Regions from separate parts of the Homo sapiens genome. Here all the other regions are linked to region 2. Evidence: promoter capture Hi-C in human tissues and cell types (Jung and others, 2019). All regions are on one chromosome and are shown on one strand. Each heading gives the region's core, a stretch centred on a gene start or on the middle of the fragment in contact. The rest is flanking DNA. Distances are from core to core; before and after follow the strand shown. Region 1 holds the start of TFAP2E (transcription factor AP-2 epsilon). Region 2 holds the start of SMIM12 (small integral membrane protein 12). Region 3 overlaps KIAA0319L (KIAA0319 like). Region 4 overlaps KIAA0319L (KIAA0319 like).

Evidence for each region. The method cuts DNA at HindIII sites, captures the fragments that hold promoters and counts their contacts. A contact is called where the count stands out against the background at its distance.
Region 1: a fragment that was not itself captured here is called in contact with the fragment with the promoter of SMIM12 in region 2 in 1 of the 25 tissues and cell types used here (lymphoblastoid cells).
Region 3: a contact is called between a fragment that was not itself captured here and the fragment with the promoter of SMIM12 in region 2, in 1 of the 25 tissues and cell types used here (dorsolateral prefrontal cortex).
Region 4: a fragment that was not itself captured here is called in contact with the fragment with the promoter of SMIM12 in region 2 in 1 of the 25 tissues and cell types used here (lymphoblastoid cells).

What each region holds. Positions count from the first base shown.
Region 1 is chr1:35,566,261-35,573,865 of GRCh38, reverse strand. NCDN (neurochondrin) reads right to left here. Exons shown (of 7, transcript NM_014284.3): 7 at 7,087-7,605. It overlaps TFAP2E (transcription factor AP-2 epsilon), which reads right to left and starts at 552. Exons shown (of 7, transcript NM_178548.4): 1 at 262-552. The coding sequence starts at 288. It overlaps TFAP2E-AS1 (TFAP2E antisense RNA 1), which reads left to right. Exons shown (of 3, transcript NR_183387.1): 3 at 3,947-4,055. RefSeq lists an enhancer at 89-588 and a silencer at 3,548-3,649. The HindIII fragment of the contact is 6,197 bases long and covers 2,464-7,605 here.
Region 2 is chr1:34,857,642-34,864,262 of GRCh38, reverse strand. It overlaps SMIM12 (small integral membrane protein 12), which reads left to right and starts at 4,514. Exons shown (of 2, transcript NM_138428.6): 1 at 4,514-4,586. RefSeq lists a silencer at 4,563-4,692. The HindIII fragment of the contact is 9,605 bases long and covers 3,431-6,621 here.
Region 3 is chr1:35,443,192-35,450,672 of GRCh38, reverse strand. It overlaps KIAA0319L (KIAA0319 like), which reads left to right. Exons shown (of 21, transcript NM_024874.5): 14 at 164-315; 15 at 668-806; 16 at 2,341-2,500; 17 at 6,370-6,512. Among named protein-coding and RNA genes, the nearest start is that of ZMYM4-AS1, 81 kb to the right of the region's middle. The HindIII fragment of the contact is 6,659 bases long and covers 1-5,117 here.
Region 4 is chr1:35,536,760-35,543,314 of GRCh38, reverse strand. The region is part of intron 2 of KIAA0319L (KIAA0319 like); the gene reads left to right. Among named protein-coding and RNA genes, the nearest start is that of KIAA0319L, 17 kb to the left of the region's middle. RefSeq lists enhancers at 3,177-3,266, 3,317-3,366. The HindIII fragment of the contact is 7,143 bases long and covers 1-6,555 here.

The sequences.
Region 1 (7,605 bases), core at 4,313-6,812, 710 kb before region 2:
AGGATCCTCCTCAGCTCGGGAGGGTTCAGCTGCAGTCCCTCCCGTTTCTTGGGGCCCGAGGTTTATTTCCGAGCCACCCGCGGGCGCAGGAGCCTCAGGCTGGGGACAGCGGTCACTTGCGCATCGCGTTCTCAGCTGGCGAAGTCCCTGCGGCCCCCTCCCTCCGAGATTTCGTTAGCGCGGGACAGGAGGGTTGGAAAGTCCAGCACTCAGGCGCCCCGATCCCCCGGCCGAATATGTCCCGGGCCCGAGACTACTCACCATGGCGGAGTAGGTGTGCACCAGCATGGGGCGGTGAGTGCCGGGCGCGAGGCGTGGCGGCGGCGGAGCCCTAGCCCGACGGCGAGCGCTGCGGGCAGAGGCGCCGGGAGCCGGCACAGCCCGCGGAGGTCACGGTGCGGTAGCTGGGTGCGACCCAGCCGGGATCCTAGTGGGCGTGGGGTCCTCAGCGGTGGCCGTTCCCGGGCGGGTCCATGGAGGCAGGACGGACGGGCACTGATCGCACTTGGAAAAGTCGGTCAACGGGTGCCCAGCGCCCGCCCTTCCTCCTCTGAGCGTAGCCTGCTCCATGCACTCCAGTTATAGTGGCGGGGGCGCGCCGGGCCTCCGGGGGCGCGCATTAAAGAGACAAGCTATGGCAGTTCTCTCCCTTTTCCCCAGCGGCTGCCACAGGGGAGGCAGTGGCTTTGGCGGGATCGGGTAGGGTGGGTAGGGGGCGTGAATTCAGCCCACATTGATCAGAGCCGCCTTCTGGGCTCGCAGCTCGCAGCTGCAGTGAAACAGAAATATTCGAGGCTGGGACGCAAGGGCCCTACATTTGCCTGGCTCTATCACATCCTTGCCTTTAAGCAAAGCACTATTCTTCGCTGGCCTCAGCTTCCTCGGTAAAATAGGTATCAATCCTTTCTCTAAGCACCTCAAGAGACTTTGGATGAGGTGGGTAATCGGGAACGTGGAAGAAGTTTGTGAGCTGAAGACTCCAGCCTATCTGCTCATGCGCACACAGTGTCAGTGCGTGTGTTTAGGGGGTCTACCATCACAGTCTTTCCTGAATGGTTCTGGATCAAAATCCCTCGAAGGTGCCCACTTCGCTCTCAGGCTTCCTGGGCTGAAAACTTCCAAGCCAAGCCAGGCTCTGAGGGAGTTGGAGACAGAAGCTGGCCAGACAGAGAGAGAGACTTGCCTGGGATGGGTTTGGGTATGAGCTCCACCTGACAAGGGGCCAAGATATTTCTGAAGCCACAGGGTCCTGGGCTGATTGAGTGTGGGCATGAGATACCCAGAGACTGTTGAGTGACTGTGTGTAACTGACTAGCATGGATGCCGTGTGATTGTTACACTAACATGCGCAGGCTACATGTTCCTGTGTTACCATGGCAGGCACTCCCTGGCTGTCAAGCAAGTTCCAGTCTCTGTAGTCACTCTCTCTTTCTCCCCAAACCCAACCCTCCCCTCCTGACAAGCAGAGACAGGGATTAAAGATGGACAAATGAGAGGAATGCTAAGGAGAACAGGAATTAAGAAAGCAGAAGAAAGATGTTTTTTAAAAGCAAGATGTGCAGACCAGGGCAAAGTAGAAATAATCACAGCAGACTTATTACAGAATGTGCCAGCCTCTGTGCAAAGTGCTTCACGAATATTGGGTTCTTTAACCCTCACAGCAGCTCTATGAAAGAGATACCCATATCATCCCCATTTTCAGGGGAGGGGTGAGGCATGGAGAGGTTAAATGGCTTGCCCAAGGTCAAGCAGCTAAGTGGCAGAGCTGGGGTGATCTGCCCCTGGCCCCTCTCTGCTCAGAATCACTATTCTCTACTGCCTCAGACTCAGGGGCTTGGATTTAGTCCTGACTCTGCCTAACTGTGTGATCCTAGCTACATCCCGTTTCCTCTGTGATCTCAGTTTCTGCAACTTCGACAACACCAATAAAAAAGTAGGGGAAGGCAGAGAAGACTAGTTGTTTTTTTAGGTCCCTTTTTAGTGAAGTAGTAAATGAGAAGATTAAGGTAAAATTATTGATATAGAAGAGGAGGTGATAGTGACACCATTAACTCATGGAATATATGGTTCCAAGTGGGTATCCCAGAAGGCACATGGCAGGTGCAGAGCTCAGGGCTGGATGATCTCAGCCTGGGGAGTGGTGGGGAAAGAAGGAGGCTAGAAGCCAAGGATTCATCATTAAGAACTTTCTGAAGTCTGGAACCGCCAGCGAGGTTCCAGAGGATGAAGCGGAATTGGGAAGCTTTGCAACTTTCCTGCTCGAGATGGGTCAGAGATCAGGATTGTGTTTGTGTGTATCTATATATGAGGGAGTCTGTGGCAATGCCCTGTTCCTCCCTCCCTCAACCCCAGCCACAGGGCATCAGAAGTCAAGCTCCAGGACAGGTGTCAGTGCGTGAATAGAAATTGATGAACTCCTCTGGGAGAAGTCTAGGAGCCGCAAAGGAGATGATGCCTGTGCCCAGCTGCGGGGATGCCCCTGCTCTCTCCAGCAGCTTGGGAAGGCCAGAGTGGCGGGATGTGCTGCCTGTCTGTGGCTTCCTTGGGTTTTCTCAATCTACTTCCTACACCTTTGATAGCCCCTTTTTGCCTCATTGTCCTACTCCGACCATTTCTGTCTTCTTTTCTGTTTCTCTTTTCACCTACATGCTTAATGTCGGTAATTCTTTCTCAGAGCAGAGAAGCTTCTTTTTCTTCCTGCACTCTTCATGAGTGAGCTCATCCCCTCTCAAGTCTTTTTTTTTTTTTTTTTTATAACAGAGTCTCACTCTGTTGCTTGGGCTGGAGTGCAGTGGCACAATCTCGGCTCACTGCAACCTCCACCTCCCGGGTTCAAGCGATTCTCATGTCTCAGTTTCCTGAGTAACTGGGATTACAGGGGCCCACCACCACGCCCGGCTAACTTTTGTATTTTTACTAGAGACAGGGTTTCATCATGTCAGCCAGGCTGATCTCGAACTCCTGACTTCAAGTGAACACTCGCCTCAGCCTCCCAAAGTGCTGGGATTACAGGCATGAGTCACCACGCCCGGCCCAAGTCTTTAATGACTACCTGTCTACTGTTATCTCCCAACTGTGTTATCTCTGGCCTGAATCACTAGTGAGAGATCCAGACCCATAGACACAGCTGCCAGCTGCGTATTTTCTCCAGACATCTCATTGCAGCTGTCTGAAATTTTCCAAGTCCAACACTGAACTCAACATCTCCTCTATCCCCAGCACCAACCCCAACCTGCTTCTCCTTTGCTCTGTAGTTTCATAAATGACACCACCCTTTTTCAAGTTCAAAACTTGCTAGTCATCCCAGAAGAGCGTAGGTCCTTTCCTTAACCCCCACAAGCTAATCCTTATGGAGTGTTGCCATTTCTAACCCTTAAACATCCACCCACAGAAGGTATGTGGTGGAGAATTGAGGCAGGTATCCCAGAGGGCACATGGCACCCTGTCTCAGCACCTTAAACTACCTTACTCTTACTCATAGATCAGTGGCTCTCAAAGTGTGGTCCCTTGAGCCCAGGAGTTTGAGACCAGCCTGGGCAACACAGCCAAAGAGTGGTTCCTGGACCAGCATCACCAACAATATCTGGGAGCTTGCTAGAAGTCCCAATTCTTGGATCCCACTCATGACCTTCTGAGTCAATAACTCTGGGGGTGGAGCCCAGCAACCTGTGTTATTAATAAGTCCTTAAGGTGACTCAGAGGCACATTAAAGTTTAAGAACCACTATCTAGGCCATTGCAACAATTCTCTAACTGGTCTCCTGACTTTATTCATATCTCTTCTGATCAATTTCCAACTTCCACAAGAGTGACTGGACCATGTTACCTCCCTACTGAAAACTTTCCTAGGGCTCCCCATGACCCATCTTCGGGGGAAAAAAAGTTTAAACATTCTAATGAGCATTCCAGACTCTGCAGTTGTGACTAACTTACTTTTCCTCTTTCAGGAACTGCTTCACAAGATTAAAGGAGAAACAGAAAATGTATCTAGCGCTGTGCTTGGGGCATGGCAGGAACTCAATGAATGCTTATTAAATACTGTAAATGATAAACACATCAATGGATGGTGTTATGAATCCACTGGCCTATTAAGGGATCCTTTAGGAAGGCTCTATGTGAACATGATCCTGGGTATCTACACATAGAACCCAGGTATAATCTGAAGAGATCATCTGATAAGTGAGTGATTTTGATTATGGCTACTGGGGAGAGGGATGTTCTCCATGGTCTGCTGCTGCTTTGAGTCTCCCTAAAACATCAGAGTCCCATGATTTCAGACTCAGGACTACTTCTTTCAGTGCCAAGGGACTCCTCACTCTCTGAGGCATGGAGGTGGAGATTTCTGGTTGTCTGCTCCCTGGGACACATGCACACATGTGGAGGCCTGGGGTGCAGTGGGGTACACATGCAGACAGCCTTGGGAACATGGGGCACACAACTTGCACAGAGACATTCATGGGAAACACAAGTACACATAGGAACATGGGACATATATTGACATAGAGTTGCATGCTCAAACATACGTGGACTCCCATTTGGCACACTTGGCATACTGCTTTTCTCCAAGGCTCCTTCTCTTTTCAAAAAGTGAGCTTGCATTTGGATTTTATGTTAAGAAAAAACTCTGATCTGCCTCATTTATTGTTGACACAGCCACCCTCATCCTCCCAGCCTTTGATCACCTCCTGCTCCAGGCCAGGCTGAGTGTTTGCAGGGTGGGGAAATCTGGCACAAGGAGATGCCAAGGCGCCATCTCGTGGTTAGATCTCACAACTGCAGCTCAGATCTCCCTTTTCCCCACTCCGCTGAAATACCAAGAGCAAGCCAGAACTCTCTGACCATACCTCATTTAAGCACAGAACTCTGTCTGCCTTGTATTAGGAAGCTTTGCAGGGTTTGACTTCTCCACTATGGGAGGGAGAGCACCCTGACAGCAGGGACCATGGGTGGCTGTCACTTTATTTGGGACCTTTCTCTTCTCTTTTCACTTCCCCAGATGATCTCAGTCCCTCCCATGACTTTAGGGACCCTCTATACTGACAGCTCCCAAATCTGTCACTTGCCCAGACTTTTCTTGAGCTCCAGACCATAGAAAGCAACTACCCCTTGGATATACCATGAGCAGCACAAATTCGCCATTTACCAAGTTGAGTTGTGTATGGTATGCACAAATCTGTCTCTGTCCCAGTGTTCCCAGTGACAGTGAATGCCCCATTATCCACTCAGTCTCCCAGATCAGGAATCTGGGAGTCATCCTTGGTTCTACTCCCCTTCTCTTTACCCCTCTTCACTTCCAGTTAATCACCAAGTCCTATTAACTCCTACCTGTATCTTCTCCAGCCTCATTGCCACTGGCTTAGTTCAGACTTAGCATCTCCTCTCTGAGCTCCCTGGCTCAGCCATTCCTCTTGCAGTGCCTCATCTTCCCAAAATGCAAACGGGATCACATTCAATCTGCTAAAAAATCTGCAGTCTAGCCGGGGATGGTGGCTCATGCCTACAATCCCAGCACTTTGGGAGGCTGAGGCAAAAGGATTACTTGAGGCCATGAGTTTCGAGATCAGGCTGGGCAACAGAGTGAGACCCTGCTTCTAAAAAAAACAAAACTGCAATTTGATCTCTCAGCATGATTCCACGTTTAAGCTTCTGAGCACAGCACAGTAGGATCTGGTCCATGCCTGCTGGTTCAACCTCATCTTCCACCACTCCACACTTCACACTCTATACACCATGGAATGCGAAACTACTCGTAGTTCTCAAGCTTGCATGCCTTCAGACCTTGCTGTTCCTTTTCGTGTCTGCCTGGCAAGCCCCTCCTCACCCTGAAGTCTCAGAGCACATAGTTGCTGTAAGTTTTCCTGCAATCGTTTGGCCAGTCTGAGGGGCTCGCATGCTCCAGCCACACTGTGTTTGGACCTACATAGAAGCCACTGCTTACAGTTTTTTTGTTTTTGTTTTTGTTTTTTTGAGACAGGATCTCACCCTGTCTTCCAGGCTGGAATGCAGTGGTGTGATCATAGCTCACTATAACCTCAAACCCCTGGGCTCAAGAGAACCTCTCGCCTCAGTCTCGGGAGTAGCAGGGACTACAGGCACGAGGCACCATGCCCGGCTAATTGTTTTTCTTTTGTAGAGATGGAGTCTCACTGTGTTGCCCAGGCTGATCTTGAATTCCTGGGCTCAAGTGATCCTCCCACCTCAGACTCCCAAAGTATTGGGATTACAGGCGTTAGCCACCACACCTAGCCTCTATGTCTTTTCATATTTACCCCAGAGAATCCATGCTAAGAAGATGGCTTTCAGTACAACCAGTCAATAAATAAATATTCCTGTCTATGCATAGCCAACCACAGGTGGGCACATAGGCTATGCTCAGCACGTGCTTATAGGTTTGAGGGCCTAGGTGGAGGAGGTTGCGGAGGGTATGGGTCTGGGGCCTGTCTGGCTCCAACCTCACAGCTTTGGCTCAGGACTGGTGAAGTACCCATAGTGGGTACTTGGCTCATCTGCTGAAGCTTGCAGGCCCTCTGGCTTCTCATTTGGCATACAGGATCAACAGCTGGTAACCTGAAAGCTACATTTGGACTGCATGTTTTGTTGGATCAGTAGTTATTTAATTAAAGATAGTTACTGACATTCAAAAGTTGGGTTTCACATACAAATTAGGATTCCTGACTTCTTTAAAAATGGGAGGATATGGCAGGGCCACTTGGCAGCAACCCAGTGACATGGGGGCGGGGGTGCAGTGTTTCATCTGTACTTGAGAGCACCAGAGCCCCCACAAGGCCTGGCCACATCAACATGAGTTTGGCAATCTGCTGTACAAGTGAAAGATGTGGGCTGGGGAGTCGGATGGCCTGTGTGGAGTCCTGGCTCTGGCACTGACTAGCGGCAACACCTTGAGCCAATCACTTATCCATGCCAAAGTTGCTTTGTCTGTAAAATCAGAACCCTTCAGAGGATTCTTGGAAGGGCTGAATGAGGTCTCATGATGTGTTTAGCAGGGCATGTGTTCAGCACCTGGTAGCTGTGAACTGATGGAGCCTGGAAGGGAGAGAGCAGGTGCAGGGCAGACCACGCAGGAGGCTTCTCGTCACCAATGAACATTTATTGAGTGTCCACATGTGCACAGCTTTGAACTTGGCGATCACAGAACGCACTGGGGGAGGGAAGCAAGGGATCAAGAGTGTGTGTGTGTGTGTGTGTGTGTGTGTGTGTGTGTGTGTGTGTGTGTGTGGTCCCCCTGGGTTTATAAGAAAGGTAGTCCCTGCTGGAGCCGCCAGTCGCGTCTCTGCAGAGAGGAGTCATAGCAGGGGTGGGAGTTAAAGCCAGGCACCACGGTGGCAGTGGAGTGTAATCACTGGGGAAACATGCGGATTCTGGGGAAGTGTCCCTCCTGTTCCTGGCTCCAGCCAGGCCAGATGGCACCAGGGGGACAGGAATCAGATGCTCAGGTGTCCAAGCAGGGATAAGGACAGGCAAAATAAATAACCCCCCAACCCCCATCGTCACTCTGCTGCAACACGACACAAAGGTTTAAAGATCTGGGCCCAAAGACTCTGGGTCCCTTCAAGCAAGCTCAGGTGGAAGGAGGTTTCCCCACCCC
Region 2 (6,621 bases), core at 3,265-5,764:
ATTGGGAGCACAGAGACTTGATTATATCAGTGTTTGGGTCTCATTGAGGCAGGTGGCCTGGGTCTTGTGGGCTGTAGGGAGCCATAGAAGGGTTTTGAACAGAGGAGTGGCATGAACGTTTTATAGACTGGTTTGGTAGACAACTTTGGAAAAGCAAGAGATGGTCCACGTACACACATGAGCCTGGAAGGTGAGGAGAACTCTAATGTGATCTGAATTCCCAAAAGCAGTCCGTTTGGAGGTGATCCCATACAGACTCCTGGGCCTGGTCCAAGACTTAGTGAATAGACTCTGCCCTCGAATAAGGTTTTAACAAGTGCTTCACAAGATTCTGAGCAGCCAGCTTTGGGAAGACTTAAATTGGATGACTGTCCAAAGGTCTCCAGTAGAAGGGCTGGGTCAGTTTACCTCTCTGAGGTTGTTTTATCATCTCTAAAATTGGGGGCATGGGTGAGGTTTGAACTCAGAGCAATGCTGTAAAACAGATATTGTTTTCACCCCCATTTACAGATGAGGAAATGGGCTTGGAGAGGTTTAAACAGCTTACCTCAAACCATGAAGCCAGGAAGTGGCTGAGTCTGAGTTTAACCTTTACATTTATACAGCATTTTATGGGTCTATGACTTTATTCATAGAGTTTTCCATGTCTGGTGTGGATGAGTCTCCTTTGGTTCTTGTGGCCTAGGTAGTTATGCTGAGCCCCATAGATAGTGAAAGATTAGGTCCAGTCCTTTTGCTTGAGTTGCTTACAGTCTGGCCATGGCCAGCATATAAACAGAAAGTTATGGTGCAAAGGGAAACCTGTTCTCCCAGAGGGGCCAAGGGATTGAGAGGAGAGAGCCTCTAGCAACCAGGGTGTTTTAGTCCATTTTGTGCTGCTATAACAATACCACAGACTGGATAACTTATAATGAACAGGTATTTATTGGCTCACAGTTCTGGGTGCTGGGGAATTCAGTGTCAAGGGGCTGGCAACTTGTGAGGGCCTTCTTGCTGTGTCATCCCATGGCAGGTGAGAGGGCAAGAGAGGGCAAGAGGGAGTTGAACTTGCCCTTTTATAAGGGTGTCAATCCACCCATGAGAGTGCAGCCCTCATGGCCTAATAACCTCTTAAAGGTCCCACCTCTTAATACAATGACAAATTTCAGTGTAAGTTTTGGAGGGTACAACCATAGCACAGGCAGTCTGGGAAAGCCTTCTGCCTTGTGAGTTGGATCTTGCAGGATGAATTAGCATTTTGTAGTCAAGGAAGAGAAGGGAGAAATTCATTTCTGGCCAAGGGACCAACCTGGGCAAAGCCATGGAAGCACATGTGTGTTGGGAATGAAAGCATAGGCTGGAGAGGGTGACAGGTTATGGTGGCTGTGGAGGGCGTGGAGGAGATACGGCCAGAAGGGACCCATAGAGTTGGGGGTGGGAGGCTAAGATGGAAACCTCATAGTTTTATTTGAAAGATGAAACTACGGCCAAAAGAAAGGAAATGGACTGGATGGGGCAACAAGACAGCAGGGAGACCATTCAGGGAGCTGCTAAAGTGGTCCAGGTAAGAGATAATGATGTTGACTTTGAGAGACATTTAGGAGGCATAAGTGCAGTAAGCTGGATCTGGAGAATAATGTAAAGATGGGACGCCTTGAAGGTGTCACTCAGATTTCTGGCTTAATGAATGAGTAATGCCACGAATGGACATAGGACATTACAGAAGGAGCAATACAGTTGGGAAATACTTAACATGTCAATAACCATTTACTGAGCACTGAGAAGGTGCAAACTACTATGCCAAGCACTTTATACACATTTAGGTGATTTAATACTCATAGCAACCCTAGGAGTGGGTACTATTATTGTCTTTTTTTAAAAACAAAGAGTGTAAATAGCTTTTCTGAGATAAGCAGACAAGAGTCAGGATTTGAACCCATGGCTATCTGATTTCTCAGTCTATGCTCCTGAGCCCCTCAGCAATTCTGCTTGAGGGAACTGCTAGCCATGACTCAAGACTCAGCTCAAGGCTTGGTTCCTCTAGGGAGCCTTCCCTGAATCTTCCTGGCTGGGCTGAAGATCCTCCTCTGTGCTGCGTGTGTATACTTCTGTCATCACATTTCTTACATTCTATTGACATTTTGTAGACCCATCTGTTTCTTTAGTCAGAGAACTCTGGAGGCAGGTTGGTCCCAGTCATTTTTGCATCCCCATTGCCTAGCACATGATTGGCTGACCAAATGCCAGTTACTCTGGACAGTTCTGTTCCCTTCTCCTCTCCACATATTCAGTTAGTGAGCAGGTTCTGCTAACAACGGTCTCCTAAATATTTATTTGTACTGTTGGGGCTCAGAAAGCGATACCCCAAAGACTGGCGCTTTGACATGCTGAGAGGCCTTCGAAGCTGCCTCAGAATCAAGGTCCCTCTAACCTTCTCTCCCAAGTATAGGGAGGCACTCTCTCTAGAATTTCCTAATCTGATCGAGAAAACGTCTTTCCAAAAGAAACAAAATTGCCTTCCTCCCCTCTCCGAAATCTCATCTAGCTCAGAAAAGAAGACTGAGGAAGGCAACTACGCCTGGATGGATTTTTCACAAGATGATGCCTGTTTCTCGGGCTCATTCAAATTCTAAAGAGAATCATTTACAAGTTAATTTCTGTCCATTTTTTCGCCCTAAGAATCACTTGCTGCCCTCAGAAGAATTGTCTATATTCTCCATCTCTCCCCTTCCCCTATGAAAAAGAGTGTATACGCTTCTGTACCCCATTGGGTTATTGGGTAATCATTCTCCTGTGACCCTTCCCTTCCCACCCCCTCGCCTCCCCGCCCCGTGCTATGCACGTTAAAATAAAATTTTGTATGTCTTTTCTCCTATTAATCTGCCTTTTGTCAGTTGATTTTCAGTGAACCTTGGCCCCTACAATACTGTTCCCTTTTCTCCATCTTCACTGCCAGAGCTTAGCTTTGAGCTGTTTGAGATAATAGAGGAAGGGTGTCTAATGTGATAAGCAGTCTATGTATGAGGCTTCCTCTGGAGGTGACCCTTAAGCTTGAAAATTGTGCCAGAGCACAATCTGGCATAGTAAAGAAAGGTGGGAAGGGCACTACATGGCCAGGCACGGTGGCTCATGCCTGTAATCCCAGCACTTTGGGAGGCTGAGGCGGGCGGATTGCTTGAGCTCAGGAGTTCGAGACCAGCCCTAGCAACATGGTGAAACCCAGTCTCTACAAAAAGTACAAAAATTAGCCAGGCCTGGTGGTGTGCATCTGTGGTCCCAGCTACTCGGAAGGCTGAAGTGGGAGGATCACTTGAGCCCAGGAGGTTGAGGCTGCAGTGAGCTATGATTGTGCCACTGCACTCTAGCCTGGGCAACAGAGCGAGAGTCCTGTTAAAAAAAAAAAAAAAAGCGGCCAGGCGCAGTGGCTCACGCCTGTAATCCCAGCACTTTGGGAGGCCGATGCGGGCAGATCACCTGAGGTCGGGAGTTCGAGACCAGCTTCCCCAACATGGAGAAACCCCTTCTCTATTAAAAATACAAAATTAGCCGGGCGTGGTGGTGCATGCCTGTGATCCCAGCTACTCAGGAGGCTGAGGCAGGGGAATCACTTGAACCTGGGAGGCGGAGGTTGCGGTGAGCCGAGATCACGCCATTGCACTCCAGCCCAGGCAACAAGAGTGAAATTGAACAACAACAACAAAAAAGGTGGGAAGGTAGATGAAAAAGCATCAATAAGGCACTGAGGTGTGAAACAGTGTGGTCTGCCGGGTTTAGTATGTGCGAGCAAAATAAATATGCAGGCTGAGATTAGTGGGATGAGGGTGGGAAGGGCCTTGTGGGAGCATTAACAAGCTTGAGCTTTGGGACTTTTCTGTATATGATAAAATTGATGTCTGTATAGGGTACAGTGGGGACACAGAGGAGGAAGTGAATACTTGTACCCAAGAGGTCATGTAAGACTTAGGTTTTACTATATTTGAATTATTTTTACACTAACAATAGCCACATTTATTTCCCTGCTGGCTGTGTGCCTGCCACAGTACTTTACAAATATTATCTCTTCCAACCCTCACACCATCCTTGCGAAATGGGTGTTATTACCTCTACACAGAAGGGGAAGGGAGGCTCAGACAGGTTAATAATGTTCCCAAGGTCACTAGAAAGCTAGCCCGGATCCCAAGAGGTCTTAAAGCACTAAAATATACTCTTCTAAGAAGAGCTTCTTGAGGTCAGGGATCATGTCTTTTGTTTTTGCGTGCCCAGACCTAGGTCTTAGAAGACGCCTAATAAACATCAGTTGAAAAAAATGACTGGATGATCTTTCACTTTTTCCACGCAGAAAACACGTGGCGACATCACTGAGAAACCTCCCGGCCAACAGAGGGCGCGACGTCCATTTCAGCGCAGTGGGGCCCAGTTGCGGACGCCTAGCTTCCTTCCGTCCTTTGGCTGAAGTTCAGCCAATCCCTGCGCTCCGAGAGAGCCGGCGGCCAGTGGGCAGGGTCACAGGGCAAGGTCCCGCGGGCCGCTGGGTGCGGCGACTTCCGTGCTCCCGGCGAGCGGGCGGAGAGCGGGGGCCGCACTGGGGAGTGTGGGCTGGGCCGCAGGTGAGCGCGCGGTCCCGGCGAGCAGGTCGGGTCAGCCCAGGCCAGTAACCTCTGAGTTACGGGAGGAGTGATCGCTAGGGTCCACCCCGGTCCCGGCCAGATCTGCCAGCTCCCCTCTCTGGCGGGTGTTCTGGTGCCAAGTCTGGGAGCCCAGGTAGCCCTCCGCAGACAGGGCTTCTCGGCACCTCAATGAGGACGGACGTTGATGAGGCCATGAATGAGGTGGGCTAGGGACAGGGGACCGGGAGACTCACAGAAGGGAGAAGGGTAGCCATTTGGATGGACCTTCGCCTTACTTGCGCTCCCATTCCTGGACTGCGCTCTAGTGACTGTCAGGGCTAATTCTTCCGCCTTCTCAGGCCTCCTGTGTCCTTGTTAGTAGTTCTTGAATTTGGGACTACGGCTTCTGGCCTCGTTGGGCCTCCGGGCCCTCGCACTGGGGCAGGTTTCCCAGCAGCCCAGTTGACCTTTACCGGATGCTTTTGGCAGACGTCCTCCATGCCGGGCTGGAAATATGCGTCACAGTGTTTTTCAGACACTTTTGCCTCTTTCATTGTGATACCCTGCCTGGGGACGACTATGATGGAGTCTTTAGGTTTTTGTAATCAGCAAAGGCATCTGTTATGCTCCTGCCACCTTTTGGGGGAGAGTGGGTGGAGGATGTTGTGATTTTACACTAGGGAGTTTGGGCTGTCATTCATTCGTTCAGCAGACCTTTTTTGGGCACTCTGCCAGGCAGGGTAGGAGAGGTGCCTGGATGGATAGGGCATAATTGGGCCAGACAGACACGGTTCTTAGCCTTTTGGAGCTTAAAGTGTCTTGAGAAACGCAGACAGGGTAAGCCAGCATCGTGCCTGACACAGAGTAAGTGGTTATAAGTGTCGAATAAAGGAATGAATTGACTTATTTGGGAATGATTAGAATGTGAGCAGGACGGTAGCGAGAGACTTTATGCTGCATGTGAGAGATAGTTGTGAACTCATGCGCGATATGTTTTAAGACAGGTTTGGAAATCTGAACGGACAGTTGCTATTTAGGGAAGCATTTACTTATACAGAGGACTTGCTTTAAAGGTGGAAGTAAAATGGAGAAGTATTAGGTTTGGGATTCTTCAGAGGTGCCTCTTTTAACTATTACTATGTCTCTGAATTTCATAAATCCCTGAGTACAATCTCAGAGTTTGGGAAAAGGAAAGCTCTTCTAGGTAATGAAATGCCAGGCTGATGGGAAAAAACTGTAGGAAGCTCTCCCTAAGTCCAGGGTTTGGACAGAAACCGTATACCTCTGCAGTGTGTTCTTCCCACTAGAAAGAGTGTAGGCTTTGAAATTGGAGAGGCCTGGGTTCAAAATCAGTGGCTCTATCACTTCTAGTGATCTTGGATAAGTTAACATAATGTCTGTGAGCCTTTGTGGCCTTCACAAGAGTCTGGGCTAATAATTCCTACATCATAGAGGTGTTATGAGGATCAAATGATGATTAGTGTGTAAATTGTCATCATAGTGCCTGGTGCTGAGACAATAAGCGGGGGAGTCTTGGAGATGCTGCAATTTTTTTTTTTTTTTTAAATTTCATGATGCTGCCTTATTGCAGGGGTCCTTAACCCCCTGGGCCACAGACCAGTGGTGGTCTTCAGCCCATTAGAAACTGGGCTGCACAGCAGGAGGTGAGCGGTGGGCAAGCTGGCAAGCATTACCGCCTGAGCTCCACCTTCTGATAGATCAGCAGCGGCATTAGATTCTCACAGGAGTGCAAACTCTATTGTGAACTGCGCATGTGAGGGATCTACGTTGTGTGCCCCTTATGAGAATCTAATGCCTGATGATCTGAGCTGGAACAGTTTCATCCCGAAACCATCCCTCTCCAACCCCCATCTGTGGAAAAATTGTCTTCCACGAAACTGGTCCCTGGTGCCAAATATAGATTGGGGACCGCTGCCTTATAGTGTTACGTCTAGAGAACATTGGGATTCCTTCAAAGAGAATTGGAACCAAAGAGAGAGGGGGAGAATCATCTTATCCTTGGTGAGGTTTCGAT
Region 3 (7,481 bases), core at 539-3,038, 590 kb before region 2:
TGGTAGCTTTCATCTACACTGTTGGTTGGTGGCAGGGACAGGCACTTAAAAAGGTTCTCCAGTTAAGGTACTCTTGATGTTTTAATTTCCCCATAAGCATCATGAAGAAACATTTCTTCTTTTCCAGAATGTCACATTATGTCAATGATTTCTTTTTGATTAGAAATAAACAAACCACCTATAGCCAAGATAACTGGGAATGTGGTGATTACCCTACCCACGAGCACAGCAGAGCTGGATGGCTCTAAGTCCTCAGATGACAAGGGAATAGTCAGCTACCTCTGGACTCGAGATGAGGGGAGCCCAGCAGCAGGGGTAAGTGTGCTAGGAGCTGGAGAGCTACACAGGAGTGGGGAGGAGGAGGAGCCACGCGTTCCAGTATATGCTTTAATCAAGTGGTCCCTTATATCAAACCCAGATTGTTCTCTGAAATCCAGGGAGGTGAAGTGACTTGCTTAGGGTCATTCTGTAAGCTAGTATAGCACAGAATGGGTTTCCCTTCCCTGATCCTAGCAGTTGTAGGCTGCAATGCTGTTCCGTATCAGGAACTGCCCAAGGTTGAAACAGTTCAGCCCTGAAGGGCCTAGTTATGGTGAAAGCAGCAACTGACTCCAGGAAAGGAATGGCATTTTGTTCTGTAACATAGCCATGTTGTTCAACCCTACAGGAGGTGTTAAATCACTCTGACCATCACCCTATCCTTTTTCTTTCAAACCTGGTTGAGGGAACCTACACTTTTCACCTGAAAGTGACCGATGCAAAGGGTGAGAGTGACACAGACCGGACCACTGTGGAGGTGAAACCTGGTGAGTTCATTTAGTGATGAGGCTGAGTAGAATTGCTGAATCAGCCAATCAAGGCCTCTATCCTGAGATCCCCTTCCCCGAGCATGGACAGAGCCAGATGGCATGTCCAGCTTTAAAAATAATCGAGAAACCCCAAGCTGAAAAATCCATAGAGACCGTCTGTTCCAATAATACCTCCTACCCATGCAGAAATACAGACCTCCCCCTATTCATCTCAGATGGAGAAACAAACTCAGAGAGGGCAGGACTTGCTCAGTGTCACACAGCAGTTGTGTCAGAGCCAGGCCTTTGTGCTCGTAGTCCAGCACTTTCTCCTCTCCTCGTGACTGATGAGAGAGGGCTCAGAGTGCTTGGGAATCTGAGCATGGGAATAGCTTGAGTCATGATGTCTCATCAGCATCCAGATGCAGAAAACAATTTATTTTTATAAGTTGAGCCTCAGGCCTTGTCTGATAATCCAGGGAAGGTAAAGTAATAGTGCTCTTTACATTTTTCAGCTTTGCAGAAATAAAAATTTTCTTCTTAAATAGAACCATGTTTTTATTTTGCTTTGAGATTAATATGGTGATAGGGAGGCACTGAGTATGGAGGTGGGATAGAGCTGTATAAATTCCTGAGCTTCTGATGAAATGGTATTAACTTTAAACCTACTCTTTATTATCTAGGCCAACCTCATATATGGATGTTTTGGACAGGAAGGGATCTTGGGAGGTCTTCCAGTCCTTGTCCTGCCTCTAGGAAGGACAGTAGCTGAGACACTATAAAATCTCTTTGGTGTTTAAAGTCAGATCACAGATAGTCTACTAATTATGCAAATTATACATCAGAACAGGCAAGTGGTGCATTCAAGTATGTAAATAAGGCATTCCAAACAATCAGTTTGAAATTCCAAATGTAGAACATCTTTAGGACATATTCAAAAGTAAAACATGATAGCCTCACCGTTTTAGAGTTATACAAAGATAGTGCAGCTGTGATGTGGCTCTAAGGAAATCCTTGTGTCTTGGCTGACTGGATTTTCTTTTGTTAACTGTATTTAAACCTGGAGGGACGGATGCATTCCCATTATTGAGGAGGTTGTTGAGATGGACACTTTTCCTCCCATTGTTGTGCACAAAATACAGCGAGGCACTGAAAATCAGATGTGAGTCAGGAGAGATTGCTTAATAACCCCCACTTGGCCTGGATTGCTCAGCACTGCCAGTTGCACAGAGGCTTTTAAAACAAATGTTTAAGTGTTTCTCTCTTCCCCACTCCCGTCATTACTCCCCACCCCTCATTGCATCACTGCTTCAGCCTTATCCCCAGCACATGTGTGGGAATTCTCAGGTTGGTATAGAGAGCAGGAGTGCTTTAGAAGCTTTCTAAGCCAGCCCCAGATTGCCCGATCAGGAATTCACTATTGTCCCTTTCCATTTGAAGGATATCTGAATGTTCTCACTCCTTTCTCTCCTGTGCCAAAGCAAATGCACAGTGGCAGGTCTGTGTTTACTCTCCTACTTCTAAAGCCATGACTGATCCACATGCTTTCCAGATCCCAGGAAAAACAACCTGGTGGAGATCATCTTGGATATCAACGTCAGTCAGCTAACTGAGAGGCTGAAGGGGATGTTCATCCGCCAGATTGGGGTCCTCCTGGGGGTGCTGGATTCCGACATCATTGTGCAAAAGATTCAGCCGTACACGGAGCAGAGGTAGCTGGGCAATGAATGGGGGGAGCAAAGGAAAGACCAGGGGCCCCCGGGCTTCTTGAATGAGCTGAGAAATAGTGTGGTTAGATAGAGAAAGGTGGGCTTTCTGACCAGAAACACTCATGTTGCCTTTTCTTCAATAGACTTCTGTCTTCTAGTGCAGGTGACATGCGCTGTACTAGACACTTCAGCAGGGCTCCAGGGTGTAGGAGGTCAACTATTTTGACAACCACAGTCTAGTAGAGGAGATAAGTAAATATGGAACATTAGTACGGTGTGGGTTTGGTACAACAAGCGGCATTGTGGAACACTGTGGCAAGGACAATGAATTCTTCTAGGAGAGTTGGGGTAGGAGTAATCCAAAGATTTTTCTAGAATAAAGAAAACTTCAACCTGGGCAACATAACAAGACCCCACCTCTACAGAAGATTTAAAAATTAGCCAGGTGCAGTGTGGTTCGCCTGTAGTCCAAGCTATTTGGGAAGCTGAGGCAGGAGAATTACTTGAGCCCAGGGGTTTGAGGCTGCAGTGAGCTCTGATCACACCACTGCACTCCAGCCTGGAAGACAGAGTGAGACTGTCTCAAGAAAAAAAAAAAAAAGAAAAAAAAAGGGGAAAAGGAAACTTATATTGACCAGGCATGGGAGGATGGGGAGGAAATTCAGAACAGGGCAACAGCATTGAGCAATGGCCCTGTGGTATGAAAGTACACAGTTTCTTCCAGAAGAAGTCACTTGGTTCAAGCTTAGTGGCCCCAGGATGTGGTAGAAGACAAGACTGGCAGTGGAGATTGAGAACAGTTATATGCAAGCTGAGGATCTTAGTTTTAATAGTTTGGGTAGGCAGATCCAAGTTGGTTTGTTTTATGTGTGTGAAGTTTTTGTTTTGTTTTTAAAAGCAAGGAATTTCCATAATTTGATTTTTTTTTTTTTTTTTTTAAAGAAAGATCAGTAGTGTGGAAGCTAGTCTAAAATAGGGAGAGACCAAAGGCTGGGAGACCATTCAGGAAGCTTCTGGACTAGTCCAGTGAAAAGGTAATAAAACCTGAATTAAGATAGTGGAAGAAGAGGAGAAGAAATTAAAAGAAATTCAGTGGTAATTCAGTAGTACCTGGCCCTTTACGAATGAAGGTGAGTGAGATAGCAAATGTGAGGCTTTTGGTTTGGATGTCTGGATAGATGGTTCAGGTCATTAACTGAGATTGGGAAGGCAGGCGAAACCAGTATGGATGATTGAATTTGGGGTGTCTTACTGGCTGCGTCAGGAGATGTTCCGTCAGATAGCCACAAGTAAAGGCTGGAACTTGTGGAAGGAAGAGCCCGAGATAGGAGTTACTGCATACAGGCAGGAGCCAAAGCCATGAGAACGGGTGAGTCTCACTAGGAGAGAGCTAAGATGGATAAGGACACAACTCTGAAGGGCATCATTATTTAAGGAGGAGGCAGAGAAAGAAGAGGTAGCAAAAGAAACTAAGAAACAGCAATCAGGTGGGAGGAAAACCAAATGAGAGTAGTCTGCTGGAAGTTAAGGGGTGATCTGGCAAAAGGGGTGCTTCCAAAGGATTCAGATGCTACAGGGATGGAGGTGTGGTGAGAACACAAAGTAGGCCTATGGGTTTGTGATTAGTAGATCAGTGCAACTATAGTGAGAGCATTTTACTTAGATGTTGGAGGCAGAGGACAGATTTCATGGTTTGAGGATACAGAGATGGTCAGTATAACACCTTTTTGAGGAAGTTGGTGCTGAAAATAATATGGGAGGTAGGATTGAAAGAATATCTTTAAAAATTTTTTTTCATTGTGGTCCTTGTGGAACATGAACATCTTTTTAAAATAGGAAGTTTGTGAGCATTTGTATAGACTGAGAGGAAAAGGAGATGGTGGAGATAGGGGATGGGTAATAAATGGAGGCAGATCTGGGGGACCAGCCAAGTTGGAAACATGAGGTGAGAGCAGTGGTTCCCAACTCCAGCCACACAATAGAATCTTGCGGAGGTTGTCTGAACATAACACTGCCCAAGCCTTAGCCCCAGAGATTATAGTTCAGTTGGTCTGGAGTGGGGTCTGGGTACCTAGAATGGAAAAGCTCCCCAGGTGAATTTAATCTACAGTCAGGGCTCACTAGGTCAGAGATAGCACGATTAGGGATAAGTATACTCAGCAGCCTGGGAGTAGGAACAGGGCAAATGGCTGCTTGATTGATCCAAGCTGGCGGGAATTGGCTGGCAAGCAGTGGAAAGATGTTAGCAAGAGTGCTGGTAAGAGCACTGTTGACAGGTTGCTCAGATTCACCAGCACTGCATAGGGGGCATGAGCAAGAGAGAAGCTTCTGGGTTTCCCTGAGCTTCTGGCTTGTACTGGATTGACTTAGTTAAGGAATTCAGGAAGAACATGTGATTGGAAGAAAATAGTATTTTACAGTAGGAAAGAACATGGCCCTTATATTAGACCCAGCTTCTGAGCCCTGCCCTACTAGTGTTAGCTCTGTGGGAAAGTTACTTCACCTCTCTGAACCTGTTTTACTATCTGTGAAAATACTAGTACCTATTTATAGGATTGTTATGAGGATTAAATAAGTTAATGTTTGTATAGTCCCTCACACATAGTGTGCAATTAATGGTTATGAGTTGATTTTGAGACTTGTTGGATTTGAGGTATCTGTTGAAGCTCTGGGGTAGATATTCACACAAGTATTTGCAGATATAGACTGGTCACTCAGGAGAGATGTGGGGAAAGGAGATAAAGATCTGAGGGTTATTGATATATAGACCGAAATTGAAACTGTAAGCATGAATTAGGTAACTGGGAGAAGATAATGGGCAACGGACCACACATCCTTTATGGCAAAAGTTTTTTTTTGTTTGTTTGTTTCTGGAATTGATAATGCCCCATTGTTAATCCCACTGTGCAGCAAGCTTTTAGAAAGTCTGTGGCAGTACTTCTCAGATTTTATGTCATGCATGCCTGGAAAATGATACCATTTATAGGGCACCTTGGGATAAACAGAGAAGGCTGCTTGTATTGGAAGCAACTGGTCCAGGGCCTCTAGGATGCCCAGGTCCCACCCAGCCACACTGCATGATGAGGGGATCAATATCTTGGTCACACCTGTAAACCAGTGTGACTCACTGATTTAGAAGGTTCTAATTGTAAAACTCACATGGAGCTCAAGGGGCAGGCTACTAAAAATTAAGGCTAAGGCATAGAACAGACTTGGTACTACCCAGATGTGAGTTCACATGTGGCCTATCTTGGACAGGAATTGACAATCAGCAAACAGATTCTGGGCATGGAGTAATATAAGTTCATAGCAGCCATACTACAGTGTAAGATCTTTTTGTTGTCATCATAATTGTTTTGGCTATGTTGTGATGCTGTCCAACAATTTACATTAACAAAGCATTGTGGTTTGTCTTTCAAGTAAACTAGTCACAAACCCAGCAGTCTTAGCTGGAAAAAGGTGGACAGCAGGAATGTAGCCATACCAAATCCCCATTTGTCTCATCCTCCAGTTAGATGGAGAGTATGGGTCTTCTTGCTGGAGGAATGGGTTCTTTTGTTAGCTGGGGCAGCTTAGGGCATTTTAAAAAGAACAGACTTTGTAGTCAGACATAACAGGGTTGGGATCTGGCTCTGCCATAATCAACTGTGTGACCTTGGGCAAGTTACTTAACCCCTCTTACAAAGCCCCAGTGTTGTTCTCTGTAAAATGGAGATGACCCTGATAACACCTTTCTCACTGGCTTGTAGTAACAGAATGCATGTAACACTTAGCACAGTGTCTGTCACAAACAGAAGGTACTTAGTAAATGTTAGCTGTTGCTGCAGGTATGGACCGCTTCAGCTCATTAGTACTGTTGCATGTCTCTGCAGCACCAAAATGGTATTTTTTGTTCAAAACGAGCCTCCCCACCAGATCTTCAAAGGCCATGAGGTGGCAGCGATGCTCAAGAGTGAGCTGCGGAAGCAAAAGGCAGACTTTTTGATATTCAGAGCCTTGGAAGTCAACACTGTCAGTGAGTAATTCTGGGAATTTGGGAGCAAGAGCCTACCTAGTGCCTGCAGCTCACCCATTGGTCCTTTCTGTCCTTGGCCTTCATCTTCTTTTCTCTGGGAAGATGGAGATAATCATTCTCTTGCACTACTATTACCATGAAAGAGTCCTGATTCATCACTGGGGATTCTTAACTTGGGGCCCATGGGCCCCTGAGATCGTGTTCAGAAGGCTGTGAGCTTGAGTGGGGAAAAATTTACATCTTTGTTTTCACTAACCTCTGACTGAAACTCACTGTTTACTTCAATGATCAATGTAGGCAACAAACTACAGTAGTATCAACAGAACCTGTGGCTTTGAGGCAATAGAAATCACAAATAATTTCCTATCACATTACATGATGTCATTTTTACTTATCACTACTTCAAAATTATGATAGTTGTTAAACCCACTTCTAGCTCTTGTTGTTTAATGCTTATTTATTTATTTATTTATTTATTTATTTATTTTGAGATAGAGTCTTGCTCTGTTGCCCAGGCTGCAGTGCAGTGGTGTAATCTCAGCTCACTGCAACCTCCGCCCCCCCGGGTTCAAGTGATTCTCCTGCCTCAGCCTCCCAAATAGCTGGGATTACAGGCATGCACCACCACGCCCAGCTGATTTTTATATTTTTAGTAGAGATGGGGTTTCGTCATGTTATCCAGGCTGGTCTTGAACTCCTGACTTCAAGTGATCTGCCTGCCTCGGCCTCCCAAAGTGCTGGGATTATAGGTGTGAGCTACCATGCCCAGCCTGTCTTCTTAAATATTTCAAAAACGTTTAATATAATTATTGCCTTCCTTTGAAGTACTATAGGTATTTTATTTTTCCAATTGTGAGAAGGGGATGTGTGGGACATAAAAGATTAAGAATTGCTGATATAGACAAACAACAAGTGAAGACAGGCTGGAAGTGTCTTTCTAGTGGCCTCCTGACTGCTCCAGTTTTGTCC
Region 4 (6,555 bases), core at 1,931-4,430, 680 kb before region 2:
TCCTCAGACTGTAGGATAATGACTTGAGTACATGTCACTTGGGGGAAGGTAGAGTTTTCTGGCTGTTAACACAAACCATGCAAGGTTTTTGATTCTAAAATTCAGCTAGCATTGAGCAAGTCTATGGTGTCTTGTTATATCACGATTTAATTGACATAAGTAAGGCCAATCAGAATTTGCTAAAGTTGGTCTCTCTCTCAGTGAAATTAAATCACTGTGTCTTGCTTAAACACTTTAGTGAAAGATAATCATCTTAAATCCTACTATCTTGGAAAACCATAATTTTGGTGGGTTCTTTTTGCCCTTTAGAAGACCTGTGCAAATATAAACTTACTTCCCCATTTGTGTGACAAAATGAAGAGGGATGAGAAAATTAGCATAATTGGGCAGTAAATCCAACTCAATTTAAAAACTATCTTAAATTTATTCTCCTCAGGAATTCCTTAAGGGAGGAAATAATAAAACAGCAGAGGAGTTTATAAAAACAAACAACAATTGCAGGGCCGAAGCATAGCCTTTTGGCTTATTTTGGAGATTTTATTAAAATCTCAGTAATTGGAACAGCTTCTAATTCAAGGCATTGTGTGAAACTGGCAGGAACATAGTCAAGAACTATGTGTGTGGTTAGTGTTTGGACACTTTTTTATTTTTTTAAAGCCTCAGCTCTTCCCTGTGCACACCTATTTTCAGATGAACAGTAGTGAAGGGTTTGGGTCAGAATGGATAGCTCTTGATTTGAGGACCTACCTTTTGAACTTTCTTTCTGATCCTTCTTCCAACAGCTTTCCTAAGAAAAGCCCATATGGTTAAGGTCCTGTAGCCACTTTTGACTCCAGATAGTACTGGATAAGTTCCAGAGAGAGGTTGTAAGAATTGGTCTTGACTACCTGCCTTTTCATCAGCTGAGCAAGAGATAGGAGACAGAGTGGCGAAGGGCGTGGAGCATGGACTTGGGTGTCAGACAAGTCTCAGTCATGGTTTTATAATGTACTGGGTGCTGTTACTGAAACATACTTTCCATCAGGTTCTTCATCTATAAAATGGAAATGACAGTACCTCTTAACAGGATTGTGAGTATTAAATAAAATATTCATGCAAAGGGCTTAGCCTACTCCCAGGTACATAAATAAAACTCAGCAATTGTTAGCAATAACGTAAAAGTTTAATATGGTTAAATTCTTGTCTAACCGCCAGATGACCCAGCAGGCAGGAGGGTTGAGTTCTCTGCTAGCTTCTTAAACCTCTGTCCAGTGGGAGCTTTGTCTGCACATTATTAAGTATGAGGTAGGCAGCTGGGCCTTCTGTATTATTGGGGAAAGTAGGCCTCCATTCATATAGCTTTACAGGTCTGAGACTAATTGAAGCCCATGACAGAATGAATTGTATTGTGCATTTTCCGTGATTGTAATATGCCACTGAGGAGCATGATGGGCCACTTGTTTCTTCCCCCAGCTAAGGAAACATTTCCTCTGGAAGAGGACTCTGTTCTGCTGCCACGACTCCACCTTGCTCTCTGCCCTAGTTCACTTCCCCCAAAACTGATATGTGCCCATGCTTGGCAAGGCCTTGTGGTAGGCCAGGTTGGCTCTGTCTTTGGTCAGGACAGTGTTTTGACTGGGGCTGATTCAACAACACTTTTGGGTTTTGGGTTAGAAGTAGTTTGTAGGCTGGGCGCGGTGGCTCACACCTATAATCCCAGCACTTTGGGAGGCTGCGGTGGGTGGATCACCTGAGGTCAGGAATTCAAGACCAGCCTGGCCAACATGGTGAAACCCCGTCTCTACTAAAAATACAAAAATTAGCCAGGTGTGGTGGTGCATGTCTGTTATCCCAGCTACTCAGGAGGCTGAGGCAGAAGAATCACTTGAACCCAGGAGGGAGAGGTTGCGGTGAGCTGAGATTGCACCATTGCACTCCAGCCTGCGTGACAGAGTTAGATTCCATCTCAAAAAAAAAAAAAAAAAAGGAAAAAAAAAAAAAAGAAGTAGCTTGCAGAGTTTGTCCTGTGCTTCCTTCCTTCAAAACATATTTATCAGGTGCCTGCTATCCTAGGCATTAGAAATGCAGTGGTAAGACCAGGCGCAGTGGCTCATGCTTGTAATCCCAGCAGTTTGGGAGGCCGAGGCAGGTGGATCGTTTGAGGCCAGAAGTTTGAGACCAGTCTGGACAACATAGTGAGACCCTGTAACAAAAAAATAATAAAAAGTTAGCTGTGCTTGATAGTGTGCATCTGTGGTCCCAGCTACTTGAGAGACTGAGGTAAGAGGATCGCTCGAGCCCAGGAAGTCGAGGCTTCAGTGAGCCATGATCACGCTGTTGCACTCCAGCCCGGGCCACAGAGTGAGACTGTCTCAAGAAAAAAAAAAGGGAAAATTAATACATTGGTGAGCAAGACAGATACGGTTTCTGCCCTCATGAAGCTTGCAGTCTGTTAATACCTTTGCCATTCTTAGGGAACAGAAATTCCCTTTGAGAGGGATGGCATTGCTGACATCAAGATTCCCTTCAAGGAGTTTGAGGCTTCCCTAGGGTCCCAAGGTAATGCCATGACAATAGAGACCTAGTCTTCTTTGCAGAATCCTGGGAATGTAGGAGACTAGACAATTTGATGTCTCAAGCTGGTCTTAATAGAATAACCTTCTGCCAAGAATTATGTAAGTGAAGTTCCTGTCCACAAGATGGTATATCTCCAGTTTTCCTTTCTATCCAGTGCTCTGTCTCTCTCACCTTTAATAATCCACATTTCCTGAATAAGCAGTTAGAGTGGTTATTTGGAAATGTGGAAAGAGTGCTATAGCTGCAGCCTTTGCCCCCAAGTTGGAAGTGTGTTCCTGTGGTGATTTCATGGGCGTTAGATACACCCAGCCCATCAGCACTTGAAAGTCTTCTGCATTAGGGTGCTCCTGCCCTTTTGGCATCAGGTTTGTTACTCAGGATCTTAGGTGAACCATTCCAATGCTTAGCATGAAGCAAGCACCAATTATATAAATCTTGAACTTCCCTGGCCAATCACAAAAGGAAACTATAAAATGCCCTAAGAAGAGAAAGAATTATGAATGTCCCTGAATGGTGAGTTAGCCATCACAGACGCTGTCCAAAGGGAAACAGAAGCAGGGAGGAATGCCAGCCAAGGCCTATCTGGAACTCTACCCACTGCAGACTCTGCCCTAAAGATGGGTGCCCAGTGCATCTCACTTCAGTTCCCCTTTTTAAACTCCCTCAGCAGATGACAGGATTTTTAGGAATGCTCTCTTTCTTCCAACTGGCTTAACATTATGTTTTGATTCTAATCCAGCAGCACATTTGAGTTTGAAATAAATGTATGCTTATGAATTCTTTCACTTTTAGGTAATAAGGGGAATGACTAATATTACCAGACCTGGGAGATGGAGTGGGGGGTAACATTGATTCAGTTTCACTTCTGTAGCCTTAATTTCAGATTCAAGTTCACCATTTCAAGAGGACTGCCATCCTGCCTGTTAAGAAATGGCTCCTCTGTTTTTTGTTTGTTTGTTTTTGATACAGCTCAATGTTTATTGTCCTTAACTGAGGGCAACCAGAGTCAGCTGGAGGCTTATGGAAGTGGGGTGGCTACAGTGAATGAATCTTAATCAGAATAAATGAAGCAGCCTTGTAGAGAAAAGCTGAAGAGCCAGCTTCCATCTCAGAAAGTTGAGTAATCTGCATCCTGCTGGGTCAGTCTGTGGCATCTGGCCTGAAGCAAGCAGCCCCATATGCTGAAGCAGTGCCAAGCTGTCTTCTACCTGTGCATTCTACTTCATCAGTTTCTAACTGCTTGGTTTTCAAAATTGCTCTCAGCTGTGCTCCCCAGGGTATGCTTATAAGCTGCACTCTGACATTTCTCACAATGGACTTTTCAAATAACAGCGAGTTTTCCTATTACGCCTTCTGTGAAAAGTTAAAGGGAGGAGTTGGCCCCTGACCTGAGGTCTGCAGACCTGGAACAGGGTTATTTGCTCAGGATGTTCAAGGCAGAAACAAAAGTTTTCTGGCCTATCCCTGGAGACTTTCTCTGACAAGCATACCCTCCTTTCCGTTCCCAAGCTGTTTTGATTGAGCTGTTTCGCCTCCACTCTTTTGTATTTCATGTGGGGGTTGCTACCTTGGCAGCATGGCTGCCTCTGTCAGTGGAGAGGAAGTGGTGGAGAGTAAAGGCCGTATGTGTACGATATGTTTCCAGGGCTTTGCTGTGTCCCTGTGGGTAGTGTGTGTGTGTCAAAGAAAGAGAGAGACACTGAAGAACATTTGGGTGTTCTTATTTCCCTGCCTAGAATTAATACCATTTTTTGAAGCAGCAGAGAAATGTTGCCATTATACAGATGAGGATAAGGAAACGCCAGTTTCCGTGCAGTTAGAGATAGTCTATACTAGATAATTTGGCAGTCAGGAGTGTTGACCAATTTGCCCATATTTTCATTTCTGTCAGTAGAATGTGACTTACAATTAACTTGAAAATGGAGGTATAAGAAAAAAACACAAGTAAAAACACGTCAGAAAAATGAAGTCTATTAAAAGCCACATGATTGCCATAAATAAACCAAACAATATGAAATTACCCGAATGTCAGTGCCACATTATGGTGTTGACTTAGATTACATTCTCCTAATATTTGTGGTCTCTGGCTCTTTATATGTGTTATCTCACATTCAGTCAGTGCCTTAAAATAAGCTAACTGCATTTTTTTTTTTTTTTTTTTTTTTTTTGAGACAGAGTTTCACTCTGTTGCCCAGGCTGGAGTGCAGTGGCATGATCTCAGCTCACTGCAGTCTCCACCTCCCAGCTGCAAGCAATTCTCCTGCCTCAGCCTCCCGAGTAGCTGGGACTATAGGTACGTGCCACCATGCCTGGCTGATTTTTGTATTTATAGTAGAGATGGGGTTTCACTGTATTGGCCAGGGTGGTTTTGAATTCCTAACCTCAGGCAATCCGCCAGCCTCGGCCTCCCAAAGTGCTGGAATTATAGGCGTGAGCCACTGTGCCTGGCCTAACTGCATTTTTGTACCTTCTCTAGGATGCTTAATTCACATTATTAATGATAATTAATATCTAGGTATTTTATATATATACTATAGATACACGCATTTTAGGTCAACAAATAATATATCAGGCTAAATAAAACCAAGTTCCTGCCATTAGAGAGGTCACACTATGGAGGCAGAGAGAGATGTAGAAACATAAAGAAGCATGATCAATTCCGAGATGTGCTATGGGAACACAAAGAATGGGGCAGAGAATAGCTGAACCCTGTTTTATAGCAGGCTGGTAAGACATGGGATGTTCTAATCCCTTTGAACCTCCTCCTCCCAGATTCATTTGAAGTGGCTTTTAACCCACAGAGCTCTTTTCACTTTTTTTATCTTAGAGGGAGGGATAGAGGGAAGAGTTTGTACAGCTCTGTAAGTCTAGAGAATAAGAGCCCTAAGAAATTATTTCTGTACAGATACAGATTGGCTTTGATTTAATTTAAATAAACTGGCTCTCAAAAATTCTAAGAATACTAACTACTCACACAGTTTTGCTTTCATTTACACACAGATGAGAAAGCATCTGTAGCTCTGCATTTTATTTGCTATAAGCAAAAAGTGGTTCGAGATATTTAAGTATCTGAAGCTTGGTTGTATTGAGTCCTCACATGTCCCAGTTCAGCCCACTGCAGTTTTTTTTTTTTTTTTTTTTTTAATGGCGCTTACATAATGCTCCAAAAAGAGAGAGTTTCAATGGGTAAATTGATATAAACTTTTCCTCTATTGGCCATATCTGCTGAAATAACACTTCATGGCTAGCTATATTATTTCCTTACTTCCTCCCAAGCCTACAATTCTGTTTAATTTACATATTTCTGCTGCGGCCCTCTAAATGACCTTCTCTTTAAAAACAACAAAACAAGCCAGAAAAAAAAAAAAAAAAAGGAAAGGAAAGGAAAAACCTTCCCAAAAAACAAAATAGTGCTCTGATTCAGGGTTCTTTGTGTGGGTTTCCAAGGGAGGTTGGTATGATTGTGCTGAATGCAAATAATTTATCAGCCGGTAATAACTGCAATGAGAAATGGCAATCAACTGCAGATTCTTAACAATACCATCTACAAGTGGGCTACACAGGGAATTGGTAGATTCACGACATCATATCTAGGTGCTTTTCTTTTTAGAAAAACAATTCTTTCTTTTTAGAACCACTTTTATGTATAGGCAAAAGTTTATCTGTTATAATTTAATACCTGTGCTTTTTGAAGTACAAAGACAGTATTACATAGAGAGGTGTGGGCTCCTTCAAGCTGTGGCTTGGAGGCGTGCTCTCCTTGCTGACAGCATTCTCCAGAGTCTTTTAGTCATAAGGTGGTGGGAGAAAAAGCGAAGCAGGAGATTCTGAGTACATCATATGCAGCAGTGTAACCCCCTAGTTACAGTTGTTTTTTTTTTTTTAAGTGCATAGCTTAATCATTTGCCTTCAATCTGCCTTTAAATATTATAAAGCCCTTGATGACTGGATTGTTTCTGAACAGGTGACTTTATGGTAGGAGAGCTATTTTCAGCTACA